Linked DNA regions of Homo sapiens: region 2 is linked to region 1. The links are contacts of gene promoters, found by promoter capture Hi-C in human tissues and cell types (Jung and others, 2019). All regions are on one chromosome and are shown on one strand. The core of a region is centred on a gene start or on the middle of the fragment in contact, and the rest is flanking DNA. Distances in the headings are between cores, read along the strand shown. Region 1 holds the start of ZNF280B (zinc finger protein 280B). Region 2 overlaps RSPH14 (radial spoke head 14 homolog).

The links. The method cuts DNA at HindIII sites, captures the fragments that hold promoters and counts their contacts. A contact is called where the count stands out against the background at its distance.
Region 2: a contact is called between a fragment that was not itself captured here and the fragment with the promoter of ZNF280B in region 1, in 2 of the 25 tissues and cell types used here (dorsolateral prefrontal cortex and mesenchymal stem cells).

The regions. Positions count from the first base shown.
Region 1 is chr22:22,506,323-22,512,214 of GRCh38, reverse strand. ZNF280B (zinc finger protein 280B) reads left to right here and starts at 3,473. Exons shown (of 4, transcript NM_080764.4): 1 at 3,473-3,556; 2 at 4,345-4,405. It also overlaps IGL. The HindIII fragment of the contact is 18,670 bases long and covers 1,091-5,892 here.
Region 2 is chr22:23,119,748-23,125,374 of GRCh38, reverse strand. All of the region lies in intron 4 of RSPH14 (radial spoke head 14 homolog), which reads left to right. It overlaps GNAZ (G protein subunit alpha z), which reads right to left. Exons shown (of 3, transcript NM_002073.4): 3 at 343-2,288. The coding sequence ends at 1,944. Among named protein-coding and RNA genes, the nearest start is that of RSPH14, 19 kb to the left of the region's middle. RefSeq lists an enhancer at 2,862-3,363. The HindIII fragment of the contact is 8,271 bases long and covers 1-5,627 here.

The DNA of each region.
Region 1 (5,892 bases), core at 2,224-4,723:
TAAATTAGGCAATACATTTCTAAACAGGGCTGGGACTAGGGTGAGGCAAGCAGGGAACCTAAGGTGACAATATGCCATACCTGAAGCTGGGCGTGGGTCTCTCCTTAATGTGCCTCAGCCTCCTTGCTTATCTCACCCCAGTCCTGGTCCTCATTCTGAATAACCCATAGCTCCTCTAAGAAATTGCAGTGAAAAAAGGAAAATGTTGAACTGAAAGATATTGAAAACAGCCACAAAATTTATGGGATGGAACTAAAGCATTTCATGGGAATTTATATTTCTAAATGCATATATTTGGGAAGAAGAAAGGTTGACTAATGATCTAAGTCAGTGCTGTCCGTAGATCTTTCTGCAATGATGAAAATGCTCTACTTCTGCTCTGTCCAATATGCTACAGGTGACTATTGATCTGTTGAAATGTGGCAAGTATGACTGAGGTACTAAATTTTTTATTTTATTTTTGATTAATTTAAAACTAAAAAGCTATTTTTGATTAATTTAAAACTAAAGGAAGAAGAGACAAATCTTCCTTAAAGAAGAATTGCAAAGTAACTTGTGTAGATAATTTTCCTTCAATGAGACCTCACGGCCTTCCTGCATGTAGGCAAGATTTAGAATAAGGTATGAAAGGGGGGGGAAGTAATTTACAGCGGAGAAGCCAGTAGGAAGTCTTATTGATAGCATGGATCGCTGATGAGAAATTATGAGAAAGACACATCATGTCTGTGATAGTCTTCTAAAAACCATAACCCCAGTGTAACCATGAGAAAAACATCAAACCTAAATTGAGAGACACTCTGAAAAATACCTGACCTTTACTTCTTAAAATTGTCAAGGTCATGAAAAGCAAGAAAAGTTTAAGAAACTGTCACAGACCACAGAAGGCTAAGAACACAAAATGACCAAGTACAATTCAGTATCCTGGGTGGGAATCTGGAACAAAAAGGATGATGGGAAAAACTAGTGACATTTGAATAAAGCCTGGAGCTTAGTTGATACTAATTTACTGATGGACATTGGAATTATTATGAAGCCAAAAGAAGATCATTTCTCATAGATTTATTTTTCATGTTATTATTTTTTGAGACGGAGTCTCGCTCTGTTGCCCAAGGCTGGAGTACAGTGGTGCAATCTCAGCTCACTGCAACCTCTGCCTCCCAGGTTCAAACAGTTCTCATGCCTCAGCCTCCCGAGTAGCTAGGACTACAGGCGCGTGCCACCACACCCAGCTAATTTTTGTATTTTTTGTACAAAAATGGGGTTTCACCATGTTGGCCAGGCTGGTCTTGAACTCCTGACCTCAAGTGATCTGCCTGCCTTGGTCTCCAAAAATGCTGGGATTACAGGTGTGAGCCACCGTGCCAGGCCTCTTACGTACATTTTAGATATTGCAAATATCTTCTTTACATATCAGCCTCATATATACATTTTAGATAATGCAAATATCTTTACATATCAGCCTCATATATACATTTTAGATACTGCAAATATCTTCTTTACATCTATGATCTCTTCATTTTGACTATGGTACACTTCACTGAACAGAAATCTTCAAATGCAAGGGTGAGTAATATTTAGGCCATGTGATTTGATTATAATACAATTAAAAAATCTTTTAAAAATCTCATAGATTTCAAAAATAAATAACATATACTATATAACCCTTGTGTTAGAAAGAATCACTATGTAAAAAATAGAGGTTCCTCTTCAAAGACTTTCCTCCCTGTCTAATTACGAATAAATAGTAACTTCTCTTAGAAGTAAAATTTATTCAAAGACCTGTGCTAACATTCTTAGATATCTGCTAGCCGTAATAAAGAAATTAATATACTTTGTGTTCTTAGCTCCCACAATTTAGCCTAAATATTTGCCCTTGCATGCTTATACTGGTCCAAGCAAGCATTAGGTCATAGCCTGTTCCTCTTCCTATTTGGAGGTGTTTTTACCTTTCTCAGCATTCTACAAGTTACATCCTCCTTCCTTTGTTCTCCTCTGCCTTTGCCTCTTTTAGAAAGTTCTAAGTTGTTAGCCAATCGGGACAAACACAGAATGTGAGGTCCTGTTCCAGCCAATGGAAACCGGACACAGCAGTAGGGTGGATGCGTCAGGTTATAAATAACCCTGTATCCTTTGTTTGGGGTACTCTCGTGGCAAAACTGCTGGCGAGTGTACCCTTTCTGCAGAAAGTGAAAATGGCCTTGCTGAGAAAATTAAATTTATGTTCAAGTGCTATTTCTTTGCGGCACCAGGGAACAAGCATTTCTAACAACTAGCAAAATTAGGACATATCTAATTGAAGGATAATGAACATATTACCAAGCGGACTGGTGAGACACAGTTAAACTGGTACTTAAAGGTAAATTTATAGCATTAAATACAAGAGAAACAAAAAAGTTTACAAGCAAACGAGGTAGGCATTTTTCTCCAAAAGTTGTAATGAGAAGTAACAGAACAAGCCTATGAAGTCACGAAGGAAGAAAATAACAGAATGGAAGAAATAGATAAAATAGATAAGAAAATAACATTATAGATTAATTAAACCAAAAGCGATTTACCCGCCCCCCAAAAAGATTGCTAAAATAGACTTTTGGCAGAATTGGTCAATTCAAAAAAAAAATCAAAGCTGCAAGTAAACTGAGTGGGCAAACTTTCTGTAAAGGGCCAGACAGTAAATATTTTAAGCTTTTCATACATGGTCTCTGGCAATTAATCAACTTTGCTGTTGAAGCAGGAAAACAGGCATAAATAATACCGAAAGGAATGGGCATGTTTGTTGTTCCAATAAAACTTTATTTATGGACACTGAATTTTGAATTTCATATAATTTTCACATGCCACAAAATATTCTCTTTTTAGCCATTAAAAAAACGTGAAATCGGTTCTTAGCTTGCTGCCAGCTGTACAAAAACAGGTGGCAGGCTGGATTCAACTGGCCCCAGATGTAACTAGAAGAGGACAGATGTTAGGTTCAGTTGTTTCCTCACAATCCCTTAAGCATGGATAGTCAACAAAGGGACCACACCTGAGAATTATAACAGCTGGCCTTCTGGTGGGCAAACCATCCCCTGATGGACTGGAAGCCTACCCCCCACCCCAAGCCCTGGCTGCGACAGCTCTGGAACCCTGACTGCCTGGGTGCCCCTCAGCTCTGGAACCCTGACTGCCTGGATGCTCCTCAGCTCTGGAACCCTGACTGCTTGGATACCCCCTCAGCTCTGGAACCCTGACTGCCTGGAACCGTGATCCGGAACCCAAGATCCTTTCAAGGCCTCAGGGGTATTGCTGCTGCCCTCCTCCTTCTCAATTTAACCCCGCGTCCAGCCGTCGCCACCAGGGGCGTCAGAGCGCGCGCATGCTCCTAGCTCGGAGCCGCGCCGATCTCGCGCCGGCACCTGGCAGCCAATCGCAGGTCTCCACTGGACGCGCGCGTGTGGAGGCGTGCGCGTCGGCGGCGCCGGGGGCCTGAGGAGGCGTAGTCGCCGCCGGCTGTGCCCCGGGAGCGCCTCCGGGGCTGGTGCGTGGCCGGCAGCTCGCGAACAGCAGCTGATCCGGACTGGTAAGGACGGGGGCGTGGCGCGGCTTCAGCGTTCCCTGAGGGGAGACTTGAGGGATTTCATGGCGAGCCGCAGCCCTGCGGGTCGCGACACCGCGCTTGGCCGTGCGCTGCCGGAGCGGCCTTTGCAATACAGCCGCTTTCTGTGGGGGAGTGCAGGGCAGAAGCAGGTCCCACGATCCCCTCACGCACACCCCCTTCCCTAATCTCAGCGGGCGCCACTTTTACATCAGCCTCCACTCCCTCACGCAGACGCCCCCACCCCCGGGCTGGGCCCGGGCCTCCTGGAGAAGGGGCCTTTCCTGGCTCCCAGTGCGCTCCCCTCCCCCATCGCCCCCGCGGGGTCTCTTTTGGCGCTCAATGTATTTAAAAATCTGAAAACTGCTTTGTAACCCCAGGCCCTCCCCAGTTCTGGAGACCTGTAGGCCCAGACCCCTTAAGGCATTTGAATGTATGGGTCTCTCTCCCCTACCGCAGCGTCTTGTCTCATTTACTGCGTCGCTGTCGGGACTCTTAATGCAGCCCCTGGGACCCTAATGGAGTCCCTCCCGTGAGAGCCAGGACCTCGGGTGATTTGCAGGCTTTTGATTTGGGCAGTTGGCGGGTGGGACGTTTTCCTTTGCTAAGGTAGGGTAGATTGGAGGAACAGATCTGGGGGAAAGGAGTTCAGTTCACTTATCTGGTTAAGTGTGAGATGATTGATAAACACCTAAATGGCAATGTCAGGCAGTGGGATCGAAAATATTCTTGTGACATGTAAGTAACTAATGCTTCTCTCTGGTTACCTCAAGGATGTGACCTTCTGCCTGGAATAGCTCAAGTTCTTAAAAGTTGCGTTGTAATAAACCTGAGGTAAGAAAAGAGAAGTCTCCCTGATGAGGACCAAAGTTGTATTTTCGTCCTTCAGTTTCGCTCCCCTGCCCTTTCCTTTGCTGAAACATAGCTGTTTGGTATTCAATATTTTACTGAGGGAATCTGAATGATGTGTTTGATTAGTTCAGGCCAATTGTTGATGTAGGTCATTCGGGAACCCTCTAAATTGCTTTGTTGAGAAAGGAGAGGGTGGTAGTGGCATTCTTTTACCACATCTCTTGAAAAAAAAAAAAAGAGCATCAGGGATGTTAAGTTATATAAAGCTGACTCCTTTTATCCTACCCTCTTTCTCAGCGACTGTATTTCATGAGGTAACTGCATGCAGCAGGACAGGGGAGGTCATCTGAAGTCATTGCATGCCAGTAGGTGAGATTATAGTGAATTGTGTGCCCAGCAATTTGTGATTACAGCTCAGTGAGACCCATTGTATTAGTTATCTATTGCCGTGTAACAAATTGTCTCAAAACTTAGTAGTTTAAAAAAAAATTTATTACCTCATAGTTTTTGAAGGTCTGGAATCCAAGAGTGGCTTAGCTGGCTGTTTCTGGCTCAAGGTCACTCATGAGGTTTCAGTGAAACCCTTGGCTGGATTGTCAGTCTCTGCGGAATTGACTTGGTTTGGATCATCTGCCTCTAAGCTCACTCACTGGGCTGTTGGCAAGAGGCCTCAGTTCCTTGCTCTGTGGGCCTCTCCATGGGGCTGTTCATGTCACAGCAGCTGGCTTACTTCAGAGCAAATGATTCAAGAGACCTTGTACCCAAGATGAAGGGCAGAGTCTTTATGACCTAATTTCTGAAGTGGCATACCATCACTTCCTGCTGTATGTGCTTGATCCCACAGGCCAACCCTGTTAGTGGGAGAGGGCTACAACTATGTGAATTCCAGGAAGTGGGATTCATTTAGGGCCATCTTGGAGGATGGCCACCGCAACCATTTATCCACCATTTAACCCTTTTCCATAGGATCTCAAAGCATTGTCCTGTTACTCTGGGTGAATAATTTGACTTCTTGCTAAGGCCAGAACCTCTACATGTGCACTTGTTTATTTAAGGATATTATTCTAGCAAGACTTCTCTTTGTCTAGGGTTAAGTTTTCTATCTCTCCAGATCATTAATATAGCAAACATACTGATTGTACCATCACCTCACCTTAAAGATCTCGTTTTTGATGCCACATCTCCCATCTGCTTGTTTTAATTTGTATTTGCTTGTCCTTACAGGAAAATTTCTCCAGAGTTGTCCGTATTTGCTATCTCCTGTTCTCGTTCTTCCTTAAACCCACTGCTGTCAAGGTCACCAATGAATTCCACTTTGCTTAATCCATTGGTCAGTTTTAGTTGATTTTCGTGATTTTATTTGATCTATTGGCAGCATATATTACAGTTCCTTTTCTCCTCCCCATTGGATTCTGGGATGCTTCTCTTTCTCAATTCTCCTCCCACCTGAATGGCTGTGAATAATTGTT
Region 2 (5,627 bases), core at 1,031-3,530, 610 kb before region 1:
GTGTCCACATGGTGGGAGGGGTCCAGGGTATGGCACAGCCTGGGTCAGTGTTGGGTGGGGTCTTGGGGGCAGCGGGAGGGGCAGGAGTCATCATCACCCCCAGACCTCCACACCAGGACTGCATGGACCTGGCAGGTTTCCCCTCTTTGCAGTTTCTTTCCTCTCGTGATGTTTATTTGTGATGTTCATTGCAAAATGACTCTACCTAAATGTGTGGAGGTATAGGGGTGGGGTTTGGAATATGGGACCTCAGAATGGAGGTGTCCCCGGCTGCCCTTCCAGATGGCACCAAGTCCAGCCACAGGTCAGCTACACACATAGCACACTGGGACAATGCTGGGCTCCATTCAGGGTATTTTATTTTCTTAAAGTAGACAACCTTTGACTTTCATCCAATCCCCAGCTTCTCTTTCCCCCGTACATCTCTTCACGTCCTTGGCTGTGATTCCGCACACTGACCTCGGACACACAGCTACTGCACGGAGAGAGGGAGGGAGATCTGGCAAGGGCTCCGGCAGTGCCTCTCCTCTCCATGGCGCAGTTCGTATTTACACACGGCCCTTGGCGAACGTCCTTTCAACGCAGTTGCCCATAGGCCCTGGGACAGGAAGGCCCAGATCAGGGTCCCAGCAGGGCCTCCCTCAGGCCACAACGCTGGCTGTGCCTTCACAGGAGTCAGAGCATTTCCAGCCAGTCTCAGGCGCGGGGCATGCTGGGACCAGGGGCACCACCCCTTGCTCCCCTTCCTTCACTCAGCAAAGCCACAAATAATTTACTCTTTAAATACCAAGACACTTAGCTATTGTTCATTTGCTCCCAGGTGAAAGAACCTTCTTTAAATATGTCGTGTTTATTTTCTTAAATAAAAACAAAGCAGAAAACCCCACCATTAACAAGAGGACACTGCAGAGGCTTATGTACAACACGTGTCCCGCGAGGCTGGCGCAGGACTGCCACTCACTCCAAAATTTCTTTGGAGCAGAGAGACAGATCGTCCAGATAACAACTTTTACACTCAGCAAGCCAGACACAAAAAAGACCACCTGAAAAAAAATATGTTTTGAAAATCTGCATTTAAAAAAGAATACTCAACTGCATTTGAAATTTTCTGGATTTTTTTCTGCGAAACACCACGAGATTTGGCCAAAAAAAAAAAAAAACCAAAAAACAAAACAAAAAAAAAATGTCAGAGAAGGAAAACCAGGTTTTGATTTATAAAACATCAGACTAGTAGAAGAAAAGCTGGAATCCCAGCTGGCCTAGTTTGAAATAAATCGTGCCACTCGTTTTGTTGTATTGGTTTTTGCTGCATATTTTGAAGCTGTTTTTTAAAAAGAGCTGTGAGTGGCTGGAGGTCTGGTTAGTGCTGTCACCCGGCTCCTAAGGTCCCAGGTCCAGAATGAAAGTGGTGCTGAGCAGCTGTGTGCAGGCCAGCAGGGAAGGTGCACAGACCCTGCACTGGTCCTCCCTCTTGGTCAGCGGCAAGGTCCCTAGGCCAGAGCTCGGGCAGCGAGCTGGCCCTCCTCCAGGCGACAGGGGTGCAGTTGGCCTACCTTGCCTCAGCCCTGCTGCCTATCCCTAACAATCCAATGCAGACCCCCAAGTGGAGTGGGGCCAACTCAGGAAGGCAAAGTGAAGGGGCAGGTTGGGCTTGTAGTGACCTTGTGACAGCTTCTCAAGTCTTCAAGAGACCTCGACATTTTAGAGGATTTTGCCATCTCCAGATGTGTGTGTGTGCATGTGTGTGTGTCTATCTACCTAGCAATCTATCCGTAAATATTTATGTTTGCAGAAATGTGGGGCCAAGGAGGCAGAGGCCAAGGGGTGGGGGACATTCTTTAGGCCCCCTGTTTTCTGCCCCTGGATTGGGCCTCTCTAGCACGCGTTGGGGCATGACACCCCGTGGGTTTCACCATAGGCAGGCGGGCCCCGGGCCCAGCTCCTCAGCAAAGGCCAATGTACTTGAGATTGTTCTGTATGATGACGTCTGTCACCGCGTCGAAGACAAACTGGATGTTACTGGTGTCGGTGGCGCAGGTGAAGTGGGAGTAGATCTCCTTGGTCTCCTTGTTGCGGTTCAGGTCTTCAAACTGCCGCTGGATGTAGACAGCGGCCTCCTCGTACGTGTTCTGGCCCTTGTACTCGGGAAAGCAGATGGTGAGCGGGATGCGGCGGATCTTCTCTGCCAGCAGGTCCTTCTTGTTCAGGAAGAGGATGAGTGAGGTGTTGATGAACCAGTTGTTGTTGCAGATGGAGTCAAAGAGGCGCAAGCTCTCTGCCATCCGACTCTGGGGAAAGGAAAGTACTGGCGTTAATCAGGCCCGCAGCAGGCAGAGACAGACCCTAGACCTGCAGCCCTGCCAGAGGAAGCCTTTGCTAGGGTCTCAGCCCAAGACTGGTCCCTGCAATGGCACCTCCTTCTGCTGGGGAAGCCCAGGTTAAATGTCTTCACCCACCTCCCACGGAAATAGCCGGCAGCACCCTCCTTGCCAGTGGCAAGTGCTTGGAAGATGTTCTCTTGCCCCTTTTGGGTCTCTCCTCTGGGTGCCAGTGATCTCAACATATAGCTTTGGGGCTACAGATGTGCCAAGCACAGCCTCCTAAACCGCTGGGCACCTCCAGCTCCGAGGACCCCCCATCTTCCCACTGCCCATCCACAGGCTGCCCCACACCTGTACAAGGAAGGCCATCTTCTGCAGGAGCCCCCGTCACATCATAGCTCCCTCAATGCAGGCGCTGGCAGCCTTGTGCCCTATCTGGGTTCTGGCCCAGTCCTTCAAAACTCTGATCCTTCCATGTGGTACCATCGGACACTAGGAAGTCTGTGAGGGAGCAGCCTTCACTTCTGTAACCAAAGTCTCCAGTTCTTGAGAGCTGGGAAGGAAACACCAGCCAGAGGCCAGGCTCCTCCCCTGCCCTCCAGCTGTGGGCACTCCCACCAGCTGCTGTGGGGCATCTGGCACCGCCTCTCTGCCGAGGCAGGACCCTGGCATCCTGGACAGAGCTCTCAGTACATGCAGAGGACAGGAGTGTGGTGGGCCAGGAAGAGGCAGTGACCACAACGGAGTGTGGCGCCTGTCCGCTCCTCAATTCTCTTCTGAGAATCTTCGATGTGTTATAGCCAGGGGTCTGGGCTTTTAAGAAGCATGATGCTCTTGTCTGACTCCCCAGTTCACCACTTCCCTGCAAAATGAATAAATTCTAACTTCTAAAAGGAGTAACTACCTGGAATTTGCTGCTGGCAAAAGCTACCCCTGCTTCTAAGATAAACTCAATGAGCAAAATATCAAAAATCTGGAACCAATCTGGCTTAGATCTGATGCTTTGGATTTAAGAACTTTTCTGGCCAGGCGCCGTGGCTCACACCTGTAATCCCAGCACTTTAGGAGGCTGAGGCAGGTGGATCACAAGGTCAGGAGTTCAAGACCAGCCTGGCCAACACAGTGAAACTTCATCTCTACTAAAAATAAAACAACAACAACAAAATTAGCTGGGCATGGTGGCAGACACCTGTAATCCCAGCTCCTTGGGAGGCTGGGGCAGGAGAATCACTTGAACCCGGGAGGTGGAGGTTGCAGTGAGCCGAGATCATGCCACTGCACTCCAGTCTGGGCGACGCAGCGAGACTCTGTCTCAAAAAAAAAAAAAAAAAAAGGAACTTTTCTGACTAGACTACATCACCAGTGACCGTGGTAATGCAAGTGGTAACTGCAGCTGGTAGTGATGACTCAGGCACGAAGCAACAGCATCACCAATGACTGCAGTGACAATGACGCTGGTAACCACAGCTGGACACGAGCTGCCAGTCTGTTCTCACATCTGCCCACTCCTGTTTTACAGATGAAGAAACTGAGGCACAGAGAGGCAGGATATGTGCTCCAAGCCCCACAACCAGGTGCTCTGGCTTGCTGCTCCTACAGGGTGGGCCCAAAGGAGGCTGCCTGAGGGCAGGGGTGCCCAGGAGGATGCTGCATAGAAACCCTGCTCTCCAGAGCCCCTGAGTTCTCTGAGGAACAGCTCTGGCAGCATCTGTGCAGAGAAAGGAAGGATACCCAGAGGTACCCGTCATTACCCTGGAACCCTGCACTCCACCTGGAAGACTGTTTTTCCAAACCAATCTTGCTCTTTCTTTAGAATGAGCTTCGGAATAACAGGAGTCCTGAGGAGTGAGCAGCCTCAGGTCTGGGGATGGGGGTGCTGGCCTTTCTGCAGAGACAAGCAACACACAAGATCTCATCCCCAGCAGAGCAGAGAGGAGCCAGCGCCTCCGCAGTGAACCTGGCTGCACATTCCCAAATGTGAGATAAGTGGTGGTCTAGGAATGTCACATTCTGCTGAGGGAGTAATTAGCTCTAATGGATTCCTGGAAGCCACATCATAGAGGACTGTGGTAACAGAGCTGTCATTTCTCATAGAAATGATGCTGTAATTGGGGGCTATGCTTCTGACCCCAAATTTTGCATCAGTTAAATAACAGATATGACCATTAGCACGTATTATTAATTTACTGAGCAAACACTTGCTGAGCGCGCCCTGAGTCCACATCAGCTCTCATGCCAGGTGATGGAGCTTGAGGTGGGAGTCCTGGGGCTGCAGGAATAGAGCCAGGCAGGGATGGCAGGGTCCTTTTGGGGTAGGGGGCTTCCTCCGGGGTTGGGAAGGGCGTGATCTGGCCACCAGCAGGGTATGGACCTGGGGGTTCAAGGGTGAGGGGACAAGCACAGAGTGGGTGCTAGGCCTGGGTCTGCCTCTCTGAGCCCTGATGGGTCACTTGGGGATGACAGTTGAGATGGTTTTAATACCCAGCTTAGCCCATCACCTCCTGGGCAGGCAGTGGAATTTAGGTAAGAGGAGGAGCAGGAGGGCCACCTCACTGATGCGGAAACAGTTCACGTGTACTGGTCATCTGAAGCCTCAGATCTAAACCAGACTGGTCCTCTGCAGGGCACCTGTGTGTAGGGAGAGCTCAGCTGGCAGCAGTGGGAGGGGCCGATAGACCACGTGGACCCCCTCTCTCCAAGGCCAAGGCAGCCACTCTTCTTGTCCAACGCCATGAAACACTCCTGACTGTGGCCCCCGTGAGTCCTGGGGTGAGTCAAGCTGTCCCAATGCACTAGGAGCCCCTTCCATGGTGTCTAAACTGCTTCCCTGCTGATGCCTCTCAGTGGACCTTGGGGACCCTGGACACCTCTTTGAGCCTCCTGTTCCTGACTTAGAGGTCATGGAAACTCAGGTACTTATCTCACAAGGCAGCTGGAGGTGGGCACGGTGCCTCACAGTACACTCTTATCAGGATTCCGCCACTGCGGCAGCCTCATCAGGACAGACAAACATCTCCCGAGTGTGGGCCCTTCCCTCAGCTCAGGCCCCTGCTTGTGCCCAGGACTCCCCTTGCTTTGCAGGCATTTCAGGCTCAGGCTTCCTGGTTTCCTCTATTCCTTGAGACAAACCATGGGAACCACACTGACTAATATTTAGTGGGCACCGAGGAGATGATGGGCCTCAAATAATAACAAAATCTCTGTGTAGACGCCTGGTTTCCTGGTCTTGTTTCTTGGCTGGGCCCTGTCTGGCAGGAGTCAGGAAAGCCTGCAGGAGGCACCAACCACATACCTCACTTCCGGGCT